Linked DNA regions of Homo sapiens: regions 1, 3 and 4 are each linked to region 2. Evidence: promoter capture Hi-C in 16 types of primary human blood cells and fetal thymus (Javierre and others, 2016). All regions are on one chromosome and are shown on one strand. Each heading gives the region's core, a stretch centred on a gene start or on the middle of the fragment in contact. The rest is flanking DNA. Distances are from core to core; before and after follow the strand shown. Region 1 overlaps ERG (ETS transcription factor ERG). Region 2 holds the start of PSMG1 (proteasome assembly chaperone 1). Region 3 has its middle 31 kb from the start of LINC01423. Region 4 overlaps ERG (ETS transcription factor ERG).

Evidence for each region. The method cuts DNA at HindIII sites, captures the fragments that hold promoters and counts their contacts. A CHiCAGO score of 5 or more calls a contact.
Region 1: a fragment that was not itself captured here is called in contact with the fragment with the promoter of PSMG1 in region 2 in 1 of 17 cell types (fetal thymus); the score reaches 5.4 in fetal thymus.
Region 3: a fragment that was not itself captured here is called in contact with the fragment with the promoter of PSMG1 in region 2 in 2 of 17 cell types (megakaryocytes and monocytes); the score reaches 7.6 in megakaryocytes.
Region 4: a contact is called between a fragment that was not itself captured here and the fragment with the promoter of PSMG1 in region 2, in 4 of 17 cell types (fetal thymus, monocytes, megakaryocytes and 1 more). The highest score is 7.7, in fetal thymus.

What each region holds. Positions count from the first base shown.
Region 1 is chr21:38,397,373-38,400,998 of GRCh38, reverse strand. It overlaps ERG (ETS transcription factor ERG), which reads left to right. Exons shown (of 10, transcript NM_182918.4): 6 at 354-425. Among named protein-coding and RNA genes, the nearest start is that of LINC01423, 53 kb to the right of the region's middle. The HindIII fragment of the contact is 658 bases long and covers 1,010-1,667 here.
Region 2 is chr21:39,182,187-39,185,745 of GRCh38, reverse strand. It overlaps PSMG1 (proteasome assembly chaperone 1), which reads left to right and starts at 2,295. Exons shown (of 7, transcript NM_003720.4): 1 at 2,295-2,494. The coding sequence starts at 2,361. It overlaps BRWD1 (bromodomain and WD repeat domain containing 1), which reads left to right. Exons shown (of 41, transcript NM_033656.4): 41 at 1-264. RefSeq lists silencers at 2,120-2,339, 2,540-2,619. The HindIII fragment of the contact is 4,125 bases long and covers 483-3,559 here.
Region 3 is chr21:38,375,202-38,378,566 of GRCh38, reverse strand. It overlaps a transcript of ERG not described here. Among named protein-coding and RNA genes, the nearest start is that of LINC01423, 31 kb to the right of the region's middle. The HindIII fragment of the contact is 185 bases long and covers 1,262-1,446 here.
Region 4 is chr21:38,472,182-38,475,870 of GRCh38, reverse strand. The region is part of intron 1 of ERG (ETS transcription factor ERG); the gene reads left to right. Among named protein-coding and RNA genes, the nearest start is that of ERG, 24 kb to the left of the region's middle. The HindIII fragment of the contact is 2,066 bases long and covers 508-2,573 here.

The sequences.
Region 1 (3,626 bases), core at 89-2,588, 780 kb after region 2:
ATACAAGTTGAAAAATAAAACATGTACCATATAATTTTTTAATAAAACGAGATTGCCCAGTGGGAAGTGGGATTGAGGGGGACACAGATAGGGCTTCATCAAGAAGTTATAAAATCAAAACACAAAACGCTTTATAGCAAACGGGGCACAGGAGTACACCAAGGCTCCAAGTTTCACTTCCATCTTGAGAATCTGACAGGTGCACCTGTCTGTTTCTCCGGAGCTCTGTTAAGGCAGGTTTGAGGAGGTCTCTTCCCTTTGTTGTCATAGGGAAAAGTAGATTTGGCGCTGATGTTGAGATCGACAACCACAACAAAAGACCTTCACATGTTTGTCTTTCCTTTTGTCTGCAGGGGGTGCAGCTTTTATTTTCCCAAATACTTCAGTATATCCTGAAGCTACGCAAAGAATTACAACTAGGCCAGGTACGAAAACACCCCTGTGTGATCTCTTCATTGAGAGACATCCCAGATGTCCTGCTGAGATCCGTGCCCTAAGTCACGTGATACAAAGAGAGCTGATCCCGGAGCTGAAGCCAGTCCCAGACAGTCTTATTCTGCCTCTGTTGATTTGGAGACTAAATCCACTCAAACCATTTCATTCAAAGACCACACTAAAGGAATTAAGAGCAGATTAGCCCTTTAACTAGCTTTTCAGAAAGACAGATGGGCAAAGAAGGCATCCTGGATGCCTGGCAGTTAGGAATAGGCCGACTTTTGAACTAACAGAAGGATCTGTCCCTCCTCGGGGGAAGAGCACAAAACAAGGACACTCCCCAGATTCACAGTGACCGATTATCAGTATGTCACAAGAAGCCAGTCTTGCAGAGCAGAAGCATGCAACCAGTAGTATTTACATCTGAATCTTACTGCCTGTCCTCCAAATGATTTAATTAGGTAATAAATTTACATGCCATTCATGCAAAAATAAACATCTATCAAGTGCCCATTAGTGCCAAGCGTGGTGTTAGACTCTGGGAATATATAGATGAACCAGGCTTCAGTAAGCTTCCTGTCTTCAGAAAGTTTACTTCTTCATTCAGCTTGGTTTGTTCATTTGCTGAGTGCCTCCTCTGTGCCAGCCACGGATGGTATGATGGTGAACAAACCGAAATGTTTTGCCTCCAGTTCTAGATGTTTCAGTAGAGTGACCTAGAGCCAGAGAGACACATATGTACACATAAATGTTTTCCCTAATGTGATAGATTTTATGGTAGAGGAACCACTTCTAGCAATACAGGGCGTAGGAGCAGGGGTGGGGAGGAACTCAATCCCCCATGAAAGGCATAAAGATGCTTTCCAGAGGAATGGCCACATGGCAAAGGGGAATTAGATGTTTGCCAGACGAATAATGAGCAGGGAGAGAGGGCATTTCCCAGAAGGGTATAGCTTGCCTTTAGCATTTGTCCTCTCCCTGGGACTTACATCAGCCCGATAAGCTAGGTATCATTGTACCAGCCTCACAGCTGATGACATTGTGTTCAGGGTGGTGGGATGGTTTCTCCATATTCATACATGCTTCCAGAATTCATGTTAAACTCTATCACATATCCGGAATACACAAGTCTCAGTTCGAACTGGTTCAAGATCTAGGCTTGGCAACTACTCTTTCTTTCTAATGAGAAAGACTGGGGGCCCAGGGAGCTAAAGAGAATGAATGAGGAAGCTTCTCAGGCTGTTCAAATACTGACACTGCCCTGGTTACTGCCTAGTGACTTCAGGCTGGCAATTTTCTCTTCTCTAACGTCAGAGAAAAAGTTTACTGTCTTGCTCCTGGGAAGCATGATGGAAAGGCTTAGCAGCTAAGGGGTACTAAGAGGTAGTAAGTCATCTCTGTCATGTAAAAGATTTCACAGGCCATTGAAACATGGGCAAGACCCAGTGCCTAGAGTCTGCAAGATTGGTCCTAAAGACATCCACCACGTGTATTGCGAGTGGAAAATAGAAATTCATGTTTGACTCAAGCTTTAGAGATTTTGTAATTCTGTGAGCATTTAAAAAATATTTCCATATAAACTAAAAAAATAAAAACTATTTCCAAAACATTTGGCTAGGGTTTTAAAAATTTTTTTACTTTTTAATTTTGTATTTGTTTGTTTATGTTAAGACATCTCATAGGTGCCTCTGACTGAGTTGCAAAGCCAGGGGTTGTGAGCTAGTATTATAAACTGTGTTAAAAGATCACAACACTGGCCAAATTCATTGGCACAATCTCTCTGTCAGACAAGCCAGCTGACTGATGCTACCTGGTTAAGACAGTGGGTCCTGGAGCTGCTTTGTTTTCACATTTTAGGATATGGTGGATTTGGAAGGTATGGCCCATCCAGGTGGATGGAGAAGAGGGTGACTGTGAGGATGTTGGTTGGGACTCCCTCTCTGCCCAACCCAGGGAAGGCAAGGGTGGCAAACTCAGACACCTCCCATGCCGCTCTGATGGTGGTCTTCCATGGGCCCATAATTTGAGCGTGACCTGGGAGAGAGCACACTTCCACAGCTCCACTACTAGTCAAGTATGTTTTCGCGACTCAGTTTGTACCTGAAATAACCTGTTTTGACCACTGCTACTGTGATTATGAGAACCAATACAAATATTGGTATCTGACCTGTAAAGAATTTAAAGCAGACTGAACAAGCCAGAGGACTATTTACTGTAGGCCCTATTCAGGGACTTGAACTTGGAGATAAGAACTAGTTATACACCTCGGGTCATCCATTGCTAAGCGATCAACCTTAAAGGACTGCTCCTGTGGAGATAAAAGCTGTGAACCTGCAACTGGAGAATGAACGTCGTGATGGCTGAGGGGGAAGAGCTTTTGCATCACTAACTTTCAGAGCTGAACGAGCTCCAGAGGGAGGTCACTGGGAATCTGACGATATCCCTGTGGTCAGTGGGTACCTGACTACTTTCAGAAAGGTGATTGTTGACTGTTTCTTTGAAGGTCCTTGGGGATACAGACCCAAATCCCTGTCTCCTCCACTCTTGGTTTGCTGTGCCATGATCTTCATTTCCATACCCTTTGTCTAATCCCACATCCGAGGGAACCGAACTCTGGTCAGCGTTATTGTGCTGACCATGAAGCAAGCCAGGCTCCTAGGTAACAACTCTACTTAGACCAGAATCTGTCTCTTCTCTGCATGGTGGCCGTTTCATTATAGAGTCCCTGATAGAGGAGACAGTGGTGTTCAGGGTTTACTGGTTAAATTAGACAGCATTCCGCACCCTTTCTGCAGAGACTCCTACACATGTGTGTTGTCCTGCTGCATCCACCTTCCCAGCACTTCCTCACCACCCTTCCCTCCTTCCCTTCCCACTGTGAGTCACCCATCCCTGGGTTACTGCCCCAACCTACCTTTTCTTTTCTTTTATCTTCTTTTCTCTTCTTTTTTTTTTTTTTTTTTTTTTGAGATGGAGTCTCACTCTGTTGCCAGGCTGAAGTGCAGTGGTGCAATCTCGGCTCACCACAACCTCTGCCTCCCGAGTTCAAGTGATTCTTCTGCCTCAGCCTCCCGAGTAGCTGGGGCTACAGGCGCATGCCATCATGCCCAGCTAATTTTTGTATTTTTAGTAGAGATAGGGTTTCACCATATTGGTCAGGATGGTCTTGATCTCTTGACCTCGTGATCCGC
Region 2 (3,559 bases), core at 1,046-3,545:
TATTTCTTTTTTAAGTCAAATGCATTTTTTTTTTTTTGTTATACAGATGAACCAAGTGTCTAAAATACTTGAGAAATTTGTGGTTGCATGTCTGTTTTAAAAAAAAGGCTTTTTGTTTTTTAGCATAAGCCAGAATATTCTAACCTACTAAGTCTGTGTCCTTTGCTCCTTTTGTAGTATACTTTCATCTAAATTACTGATCCCCAATATGTTGATACACAGGTGAGAAAGGGAAGAATTCCTAATAAACTGCTATTACTTTTAGGTGCATGGGGTTTGATTTTTGAGCTCTAATGAAATGCTTAAACTTCTTTCCAGTTCAAATTTTACACTTAATTTATAATATTTATTGAGTATATTATGTCCTCAACAAGTAACTATAAAATGAAATACTTAACTCGGTGAAGACTATTTTATGCAAAGTTTTTTTTTTTTTTTTTTTTTTTTTTTAGCAATTTCAGTGTAATGAAAGAATTTAAGCTTTGAATTTATAATTTGCTGTGGTGGGGTTAATTTCTGTCAGTATTTGAGATTGTATTATCAGTCTTGCATAATGAAATCCTTTTTTGGCTAAGTATTTAATTCGAACATATTTGCCTTTTTAAAAAGTGCTTGGCCTAAACTTATTGTAACTGCATGAAATAAGCATTTGCTTAAAACTTAACATTGTAAAATTGTTCTCTCTGAAATGTGTGCAGAATTTAAATCATGGCCAAATGTATTACTATTACCCTATTTACAGTAATTTGCTTTGCAGAAAATATTTCTTCATCATGGAACTGTGAAATCAAATTGAAGATCTTACTGGTAAAAATGACAAATTAACAAAAGGACTAAGACAAGTGGTGCCCAAACAACCTTTTTATTCTGCAGTTCCATCATCATAATAGACCAGTTAACCCAGGAGTCCTAATGTTTTAAAACATCATTGTGGTGATCTTGTTTATTCTATCTCACTAAGGATATCCAGTTTCCTAAGCTCTTACTGGCTAGCAATTTCGTCTTAATTTTATTGCTAAATGTTCAAATTTTGCTTCCAAACTCACTTTATTTTTGCAGATGTGTACATCTGCTAAGTACTAATTTTATGTAAATGATTTTGTTGATTATCTTTCCACATCTTAAAATGTTTCTAACAGCTTTGAGATTTTATCTCAACAGGCTCTCTCTGACCCCAAAGTAGTACTTACCTTCGTGACTACTGACAAAGTCACAAAATGCAGGCGATGTCATGTATTTCGGTACAACTAAATCTAGGAAACGGTTTTTTCATTGCATTACTGCATATTTTCATTTTCATTTAAATTATGTCCCCTTTTTCTCTTGCTTGAAACAGTGCTCCTCGAACTTTGTCTTCCAGCACATTTTAAAGAGAACCAATTAAAGAACAATCACACATTCTGCTTATTAAAGGCTATTTAAAAAGAAACATTTTGTATTAGAAAATGGCCAACTTTAAAACACTATTTTTTACACTCATAAAAATGTTTTTTAAATCGCCTTGACAATCATCAGCTTTTGAAATGTGAATTCCTATTGCCAGAGTAAAGGTCTCGTTTTTATACCACCACGAAGCGCTGTATTTCTTGCTGCCCTTGCGTCCGCCCGTGCCCGCTGTCTGAGGGCGCGCCTGGCTACGGGGGCCCTCAGTACCACCGCGCCGCCACCTACCTGGGCAGTCGAAATTTGGAGCGGGTGCTCAGTACACTAATGCTACCCCAGTCTCTCCTAACGCAGAAGGAAAATGGAAACGGACGATGAGGGGACGGCCCCACAGCTCCCGGACGCCACGGCCAGCGGCGCTGGCTCCGCCCCTGCACCCCTGGTTCCGCTACCGCCACGAACGGAGGCCCCGCCCTCCTCTCGCCCCCTGCCCCTCTAGCCCGCAGTCCTCCCACCTCCTGGCGCCCGCAGGGCTCAAGCTGCGAATGAAAGCCTTTGGGGGCCGGACGCGGTGGCTGAGGCCTGTAATCCAAGCACTTTGGGAGGTCTAAGGAGGACGATCGCTAGAGTCCTGGAGTTCGAGACCAGTCTGGGCAACATAGCGAGACCCCCTCCCCCAATCTGTAATTTAAAAACAAAAAAGCTGCGGGGACTGCTGGCCCAGGGCATGACAGCGCGGGCGGGCGGTGTAGAGGGCGTGGCCGCGAGCTCAGGGTGTGCCTGGGAGCGAGCCCTGTGCGGGGCGGGACGTAGCGCCCGCGCGGTGGGGGTGTGGCCGCGAGCTTGGGCTGTGCGCGGAGGGCGTGGCCTGTGCGGGGCGGGACTTATTGCCCGCGCGGTGAGGGAGCGTGGTCTCGCGCAAGCCGGCGTGCGGTCCCGCGGCGCTGCAGTTGTGTCCAGCCGGTCACGGGGCGGCTATGGCGGCCACGTTCTTCGGAGAGGTGGTGAAGGCGCCGTGCCGAGCTGGGACTGAGGACGAAGAGGAGGAGGAGGAGGGGCGGAGGGAGACGCCCGAGGACAGGGAGGTGCGTCTGCAGCTGGCGCGGAAGAGGTGAGGCACCGGGATAAGGGCAGCGCGCTCACCGCAGCTGGAAGGTGCGCGGGCCTGGCAGCCGCGACGGCGCCTAAGGCCGGGGCTCCGCGGTCTTCCGAGTGGCCCCCGCGGTTGCCGCCGCTCCTTGGCTCTGCTTGGGCCCTGGGTCTCCGTGAAGCCGCGGCGTCCAGCGGCGCCAGCCCCAGGTGTGTGTGGTTCTCGCGTGGATCTGCTGGCGTTTCGTGGAGTCCAGGGTGAAGCCGCTGTGGGAGGGCTGGGTTCAAATCCGTTCTTTAAAGGCTTTCTGGAGCGTTTCTGGAGCATTTCTGGAGGCTTGGTGTCTTGCGGACTCGTGATCTTCCCGCTTGTCACACTGTCTTGGGCCGCAGCGCTCCCGCGGGCCCCACCACGTTTGTCGTGGATTGTTCACGGACACACCAATTCCCTCGAAACTTTTTAAACCTGCACCCAACACTTCAATTAGCATGATGTGTCAGTAGCCGATGAACACGCTTTAAAAAAATTGTTTCCAAACACAAAAAAGTGGGAGAAAATAGTCAAGTGAGCCCTGACCCCTACACAACCGGGTAAATTCAACAGGAAGATTTTGCCACGTTTATTTTCTCTCCCGCCACTCCTAAGCGAATTCCAGTCATCATGGCCTTTCACCTCTACATTTTTCAGAATACATCTCAAACGTTTTAGGGATTTTCTTACATATGCTATTATCACCCCTAACAACACTAATACTAATTTTCCAGTATCATTTTGTAGTCCATGCTCACTCACGTTTACCTAGTTTTTTCAAACATGACATTTTACAGTGGTCTGCGTGAATGAGAATCCTAACAGGGTCCACAGGTTACATTTAGACGTGTCACTTCATTTAGAGCAACCTCCTCTTACCCCTCCTAAGAGACAGGACTGATTGTCTTGTCCAGTGCCCCCACACTCTGAATTTGTCTGATAGCTTCGTTGTGGTGTCACTTAACGTTTGTATCACCTGCATGTCCTGTAAAATGAATGTTCATTTGGAGGCTTGGTCAGATTCTCATTCAAAGTTTTGTCGGCAAGAATGCTTCT
Region 3 (3,365 bases), core at 105-2,604, 810 kb after region 2:
ATTACCCTTATCACCCATTGATTCAGGACCCAGCACAGTGCCTAGCAATATCAAGCTGTTGGAAAACGTTTGCAGCTATATGCATGAATGAACATCCAGAAAGGTAACATCTGGACTAAAGGTGGGCTCAGCAGGGATGCCCATTGGCCAAATTCAAGAGAAAGCTTTTTAGAAGTTGGAGGAGGTCCAGATGGAATGGTCAGCCTTTGTCCAGGAGTTCCTGGATATGAGGTGTGCTTATTTAACAACCATGCAACTATTTGCCAGGTGTTTGGCAGCACATGGACTACATGGCTATTTAGGTCTTCTTCGGTCCAGTGCAACTTGGGTTCTGTGAAATATTAAGTGTTGTCCATACATAGAAAGTCAGGGGTGAGAGTCTGAAATCAGTGATGGCTTAGTGGCCTCACTCTTGATCAGTGCCAGTTTGTCCTAAGAGTCAGCAGTACATTAGGGCTTTAGACATTACAGAGACAGTGGAATCACCCCAAATTGAATTATGTTGTGGCTCTGTGTCTCTAAATTGATTGGAGTCCAGTCTGCTTGGAGATTAAAATACATCCTATTTTCTCAGCACTGCAGGGCCCAGGTGAATGGTGAGAAGCAGCCAACTGATGGGATAAATGAACTTTGCTTTCATGTTTTCTCACTTATGAGGAAGACCACCCCCTACAGCACACTTGCATAAAAACATGTCCTGAGGGTGGTTGGTCACAGCCTGCTCAGCATTAGACATGCATCAGCTGAAAGAGTGTCAGTCTGCCTCAGGGGCCCTCAATCCCACTCCAGACTAACAATTTCCACCTCCAAGTCGTCGTGGGATGCCAGGAGCCAGGGCTGATCTCCATTTGCACTCATGAGGTTGAGGCTAAGGAAGGGGTGGGGTGTAGACAAAATATACAAGAAAGAATTTGGTGTAGAAGTCACGAACCATTCTGTAAAGTCTCTTAACTGGAAAGCCAGGATGTATCAAGATGTTAACAACTTTTTATTTTAAGTAAGTTCTCTTATTAATTTTTGGTTTTTCTACTCGGCAAGAATATAACTGAAACTTGTTTGAAAGGTTTGGAGGTGGGTGGATGTGTAACTTGCCCAACCTTTTTAAATTAAGGGTGAAGAGAAAGGAAAAGGCTAGCTGTCCTCTTCTTTTCTATGGCATCAGGGCAATGGTTTCTAAGCTGTCTCATCAGAATTGGCAGCAGGCTGCTGGCAGGAGGCGGAGGCTGGCATTCCAGTTCTAAGTAATTCCAGATATTAAGCTTTCAGGTCCAAAGAGGAGCCTCCCAATGGATATCATTTTCTCCTTTAAACAATAATACTAATTGCTACTACTTTTGATAATAATAATAGCTTAGTGCCAAACAATGTGCATACACTATCTTTTTCATTTAACTTGCACAATACCGCTTTGAGATAGTTTTATCCATATTTTACAGATGTGAAGCTTTGAGAGGTTAAACTATGTTATAAATCACTCTAAGTCACAGAAAAATCTTACAGCTTTCAGGACTTGAAATTGGAATGGCCTTCCTAAGCCATCGCTTGGACAGTCTTCAGGGCATGTCAAATGGAGTGCCCTCCCCTTATCTAGCTATGCTGGGCAGAAGCCCGGTTGTTGGTAGTTATCAGACAGGAAGCAAAGCGCAGCCCTCCCATTTCCTTGCTGCGCCCTTTGGTTTTAGGGCGGGAGTGCTGCTTGCTGGGGACGCAGGCGGACTCCAGGCCGCTTTGATGGAGAACACAGGATACGTGCTGCAGGTGCTCTTCTGGACGGAGTCCCAGCTGCTGGGCCATAACCTGGTGGAGGCGAGTGGGGCTGGGCCCCATGGCTGTGAAGAGACCCACCATACAGCGGCCTCAGGATTTTCTGTCTCCATCCGCTCTGATGCTTAGGGTCAGAGGAAAGGCCCTCTCAAGTCCGGCAGGGCCTGCCTCCAGGAGAATAAATGGCTGTTCCTTTCTTCCATCTTTGCAACCAACTCGGGAGTCAGGTGGATGAAAATGGAAACGTCCCTTTCCTAGTAGGAAGAACATGGGTTAAGCCTGCAGTGGGCAGACCAGCACTTCCACCCTTTCACTGATGTGGTTGGGAAGGTGCAGGACAGGAAGCGACTCCCATTGGACAGAGACCAGAACCGGTTTCCATCAGGGTAGGACCCGCCTCTTCCTGTGAAAGAGAGCGGAAGTGGTGGGAGAGAGCGAGAGTAACAACTGAGTGTCCGTCCCATGGAAACATGCATAGCGAGAAACGAACAACAGGCCCAGATTCACATCCGACAATTCCACAGTTCTCTTTAGAAGAAACCCCTCCCCTCATCATATTTTCTAACCTGAGACCCTGGGCCTGTCTGTGCCTCTGTGCATTCACACTAATGTGACATAGGGCATTTTAAAGTGGAACTATGCAATGGTCACTGGATTTTAAACCAACACTGTCAGGTCCATGTTCACTAAGCCACCCTACCCCAATTAAAAAGAAAATACTAACAGAGGGTCTATAGCTTTCATTCAAGGAAGGCTGAGTACTTGTTAAGATCATAGGATGGGCAACCACAATAGGATGAGCAAACAAACAAATGATTATTCATATGATGCTAGGAAGTTAATTAAGGCAGGAAGAAACTAGATAGAAGGGGTAAGACAGTTGGAAGGAGGCTGAATTGTTAAGTTAGTGTGTGATGTCCAGTTGTGTTGGGGGTGCAGGAGGATAATGAGCAAGACAGTGGGACTATGACTACCCGGGGCCCACAACAGACCAGAGATGCCTATAAAAGGACCCTGTGACTCCTGTGGAGTGTTATACACACCAAGTAAACAAGTGATGCGCAATCAAGCCAAATGAACCCAGGCTATAGAACGTTCAGCTTCAGTTGAGTGAACACTATGTTTTGAGGTCTGTTTACAGGTTGTGATTTCACCAAAGTGTTTCCTTTTCTCAATCCAGTTCTTCAATCCAATTCTCAGTTTTTGTTCCACGGTGTGTCGGGCTCTGTGGGAATGGTTTTTGGAAATAAGGTTACTGTATTATTAGCATCCAAGATAAAATCAGTGGGGAGCAAGAATGTCTGCTCTCATTTACTTAACAAGCATTTGCTAAGAATCTTTGATGTCACAATGATGTAAGAGGTACAGAAAGGTGTTAGGGAGTTCTTGCCCTTGGAGAGATTATAATCTAGAAAGGGAAAATGTACATAAAAATCTCTAATGCAAGACAAGACATGCATGCACCTATCGTGGTTCCCCATCCTAGGAGCCTGACTCTCATAACATAGAGGTCGGGTTTTAAGTCAGGTCTTTCTCAGAGGTAAAACAGCACAGTGGCTCCTCATGGTGGGTTTGGAACCAAACAGAACCTGATCCAAATC
Region 4 (3,689 bases), core at 291-2,790, 710 kb after region 2:
TTTACTGGGCACCCACTAGGCTCATGGGTGCTGAGGGGCATGAGCAGCAGGACAGCTGGGCTCACTCAGTGCTGTCAATCAGGGGGATGCAGATGGGGGAGACTGACAAATAGATCACAGCTCAACGAAGACAGAGTGTGGCAGGAAGTCAGGAGCCTTAGGAGGGAAGGTAGGGAACATGATAGAGCCAGGTGGCCGGGGGGCGGGACCTCTAGTTTAGAGAACATGATCAGGCAAGGCCTGTCAGACAGAGACCCAAAGAAAAGGTGAGAACAAGGTTTGCAAATGCCTCGGAGGAGTGATGCGGACCAGGGGAATGGCAAAGGCAAGGACCCCAAGGCGGGGACAGGCAGAGGGTGTCTGAGAGCAGCACATCCTCTTATAATCTAGTTTCACAGAGGAGGCTGTCAGAAGAACAGCCCTACCCTAAGGAAGGGTCCATCTGCTTTGATTGTAATCGGGCACAGTCCTGGACACCGAGTCCCTTTCTGTCAGGTGCGAAAAGCTTGGGGAATGCATCTTGGTCATGGGTTGCTACTAAAATGAGCGTGTCATCTTCAGGGGACAGGAATTAAAGGCACAGAGAAAAACTGAAATTATTTAGCTTCCCTTCCCTTCTCCCTTCTTCCCATCTCCCATCCCTTGCCACTGATTATGGTGGGGCTGGCTTTATATATTCTCTAGTTTCTCATATGTTGACTTATTTTTGCAGTCGTTTCAGTTCTAGGCCATTTGGTGCATTATGTTCCGCGTTTATGGGCATGCGCTTTGGAACCAGGCAGCTGGCTTAGAATTCTGGTGCATTAACTGGCAAGATGCTCTAGGCAACTTATTTAATTTTTGGAGTCTCAGTTTTCCTCATCTTTAAAATGGGCATAATGGTAGCTAGTGTGCAGGTTAGATGCATTAATTCACATGTGCATGTCTTTTAGAGCCGCCACGCTGTGATCACGTTATTAAATGTTAGATGTTATCAGGAAGGTCCTATATTGTCTACGATGCTTCACTTTCTTTGATTCATCTGTTTCACTGAGAAAAGTGAGATAAATTATCATTAATCTAGAGACATTTTTGTAGGCTAAAGGCTTCTTATCACAACGTTTTCTCCAAAAAATAACGAACAGACAAAAAAAAAAAAATGGAGCCAAGTCTTTCACCGTATTTGTTTGTTTATACAAGGGCTATATAGTCACCACCTTCCATACAGGTAGGAGTCTCATGACTTTTTGGTGACCCTTTCAGAGCAAGGGTTATTTCTGCCCCACAGGCATCATTTGACTTAGTGAGATTTTCAACACACCCTCAAAGCACATGTTTTTTAGGGCAAAGAGTTGAGGAGAAGAGAGGCAGGGTGAAAGTCTGAGCCTTTGGTGCAGCACCTCTGCTGGCTTCTGAGACTCTGTGTCACCCAGGGGTGGGAGGACAGTTCTCTCCAGGGCACTCATCAGGACCCTGCTGCCTGTGGTCATGAGACAAGGAGATCATGTGTCACAAAGGCACTCAACATGCAGAGGCGGTGTCGCCTGTCACCTGGAGGGGCTGCACGCAATGAACTTCCAGTCTCCATGTGACCTCCCACTTCTTGGCTTTCCTACTGAGGAATTTGCCATTTCCTGTCGAGAAGTCCAGGGTATACAGGAGCAGTAAATGCCGTGGAGAGGGTGGGGGCGGGAGAACCACAGGAAGTCCTCAGATATGACCATTTGGGTTGGTGGAGTCGGGACCAACAATGGGTTTTACCTCTCACAGTTAAACTCCATTGATGATGCACAGTTGACAAGAATTGCCCCTCCAAGATCTCATTGCTGTTTCTGGGAAGTAAACGCTCCTTAAAAGATTTACTTGTGAGTAAACTTCTAACCACTCTTCTTTAGCTGTCTAAGGAAAAAAAAGTCAGTTGGCTCATGTTTTCCAACTTACTTCCTATTATATACACACATACATATACACACACATACACACATATACAACACTTACACACACATACGCTCACACATACACATGCATACATACGCAAACATGTACACATACACATGCATACGTACGCAAACATGTACACATACACACACACACACATATATATATTTATGCCTGTTTAGATCCAAAATCACACACTTTATATAGATAAAACTTAAGTGAACTTTAATATCTGTACCATACATTTAACTTCATTTCACAAAATAGTAATATGTCCAAACCACGTCTTTCAAAAAAAATTTTCCCTCTCTCAATTATTTTCTCTGAGATTACAAAGGATATCTTCTCCTAGGATTTGTAAATGCATCTTAATTTTTGATGCTCCCAGATTTGAGTCAATTTCCCCTACGTGAAGTGAGGATTAAGTTTGAATCATTATTATTTCACCACTCTCTGGTATCTAAAATAATTATTTTTTTCTTATTTAAAATTGTCTTTAAAAAACAGCTTTGTATATATATATATATGTATATATATAATTGAATGCAAGGTCATATTAAGATTTAAAACCATGGGCTCAGTTTCTGAAAGAGCAATGAAAAGCTGGACAAGATAAAGGAAAGAATTCACTAAAGACAGAGGATCCCACGGAAGCTTCGCCTGCCTAGGCAGAGTGTGGGTAATATCCAGATGAGGCTGAAGTGATGTGAGTCAAATTTGGGAATTTATTTGACCTGGCTGAGCTCCTGTGCCCTTTTGACGTGTCTCTAAGCCTTTTTTTTTTTTTTTTTTTTGAGCGCATCCTCCATTTCATTTTGAAGTATGTATTTGTAGACGGTTTTATGCTGTGAAAATGAAAACTTGCTACACCTCAGAACTACGTCTCAGAAGGCAGCGGACTGGTCTTGCAGGTCCCGGAAGTTCTGCCCCGCAGTGCCTGCTGCCTGCCTCATGCCGGGTCTGCAGGCGGGGAGCCGAGGTCAGCCGAGGAGCCAAGCTCAAGGGCCGAGATGGGCTGCAAAACTCATTTCCTCCAGGCCCTGCTGGGGCTCCTTGAAATGGAAAAATAAAAAAGTCAGGCCCAGCATGCACCAAGACAGGGCAGACAAACGACAAGACTGCAGGTCTGAGCTCCAAGCGCACGAATTGCCCACGTGCAGCCATTTTCTGCTTTGAGCGTCATGGAAAAGAGAAACTTAGTAGCTGAGACACGTTTCTTCCCCTTCTCCTGTGATTTGGGAATGCCCTTTTCCAAACGTTCATTTTCTTTTTTCTCCCTCCTGACTCTCAGGGCTTCATGTTCCTTATCGTAGAGTGTAGCTGCCCTGTGGAGGCCTGCGCAATGTGATGAGCTCAGCGGGGGTAACCAATATTGCCACCTCACGTGGGAGCCTCACCACTCTTAGGACGTGTTTTCAGGGGAGAGTTAGAGTTTTAGAAGTTACAAATACCACACTCGCAAGCAAACTTTGGGGACACAACCTCTGTCTTTATCTCTAAACTGGTGATCCTAAAATATGTCCCGTATACTATGTGGAGTGGCATGGAGGAGCAAATGAGACGGTAATTGAAGGGTGTTTATTAAATTATAAAGTGCCCAGCGTATAATCCCGTCATTGACTTTACATAATGGCTAGTGTAACACCCATTGCATAGAGTGCTGGCATGCAGTATTTTCTATGAGTGACTTAAGGTGGCATACAATAATAGTGCACCGTTTCATGCCTTCCTTCCTTCCTTCCTTTCTTTCATTCTTTCTTTCTTTCTTTCTA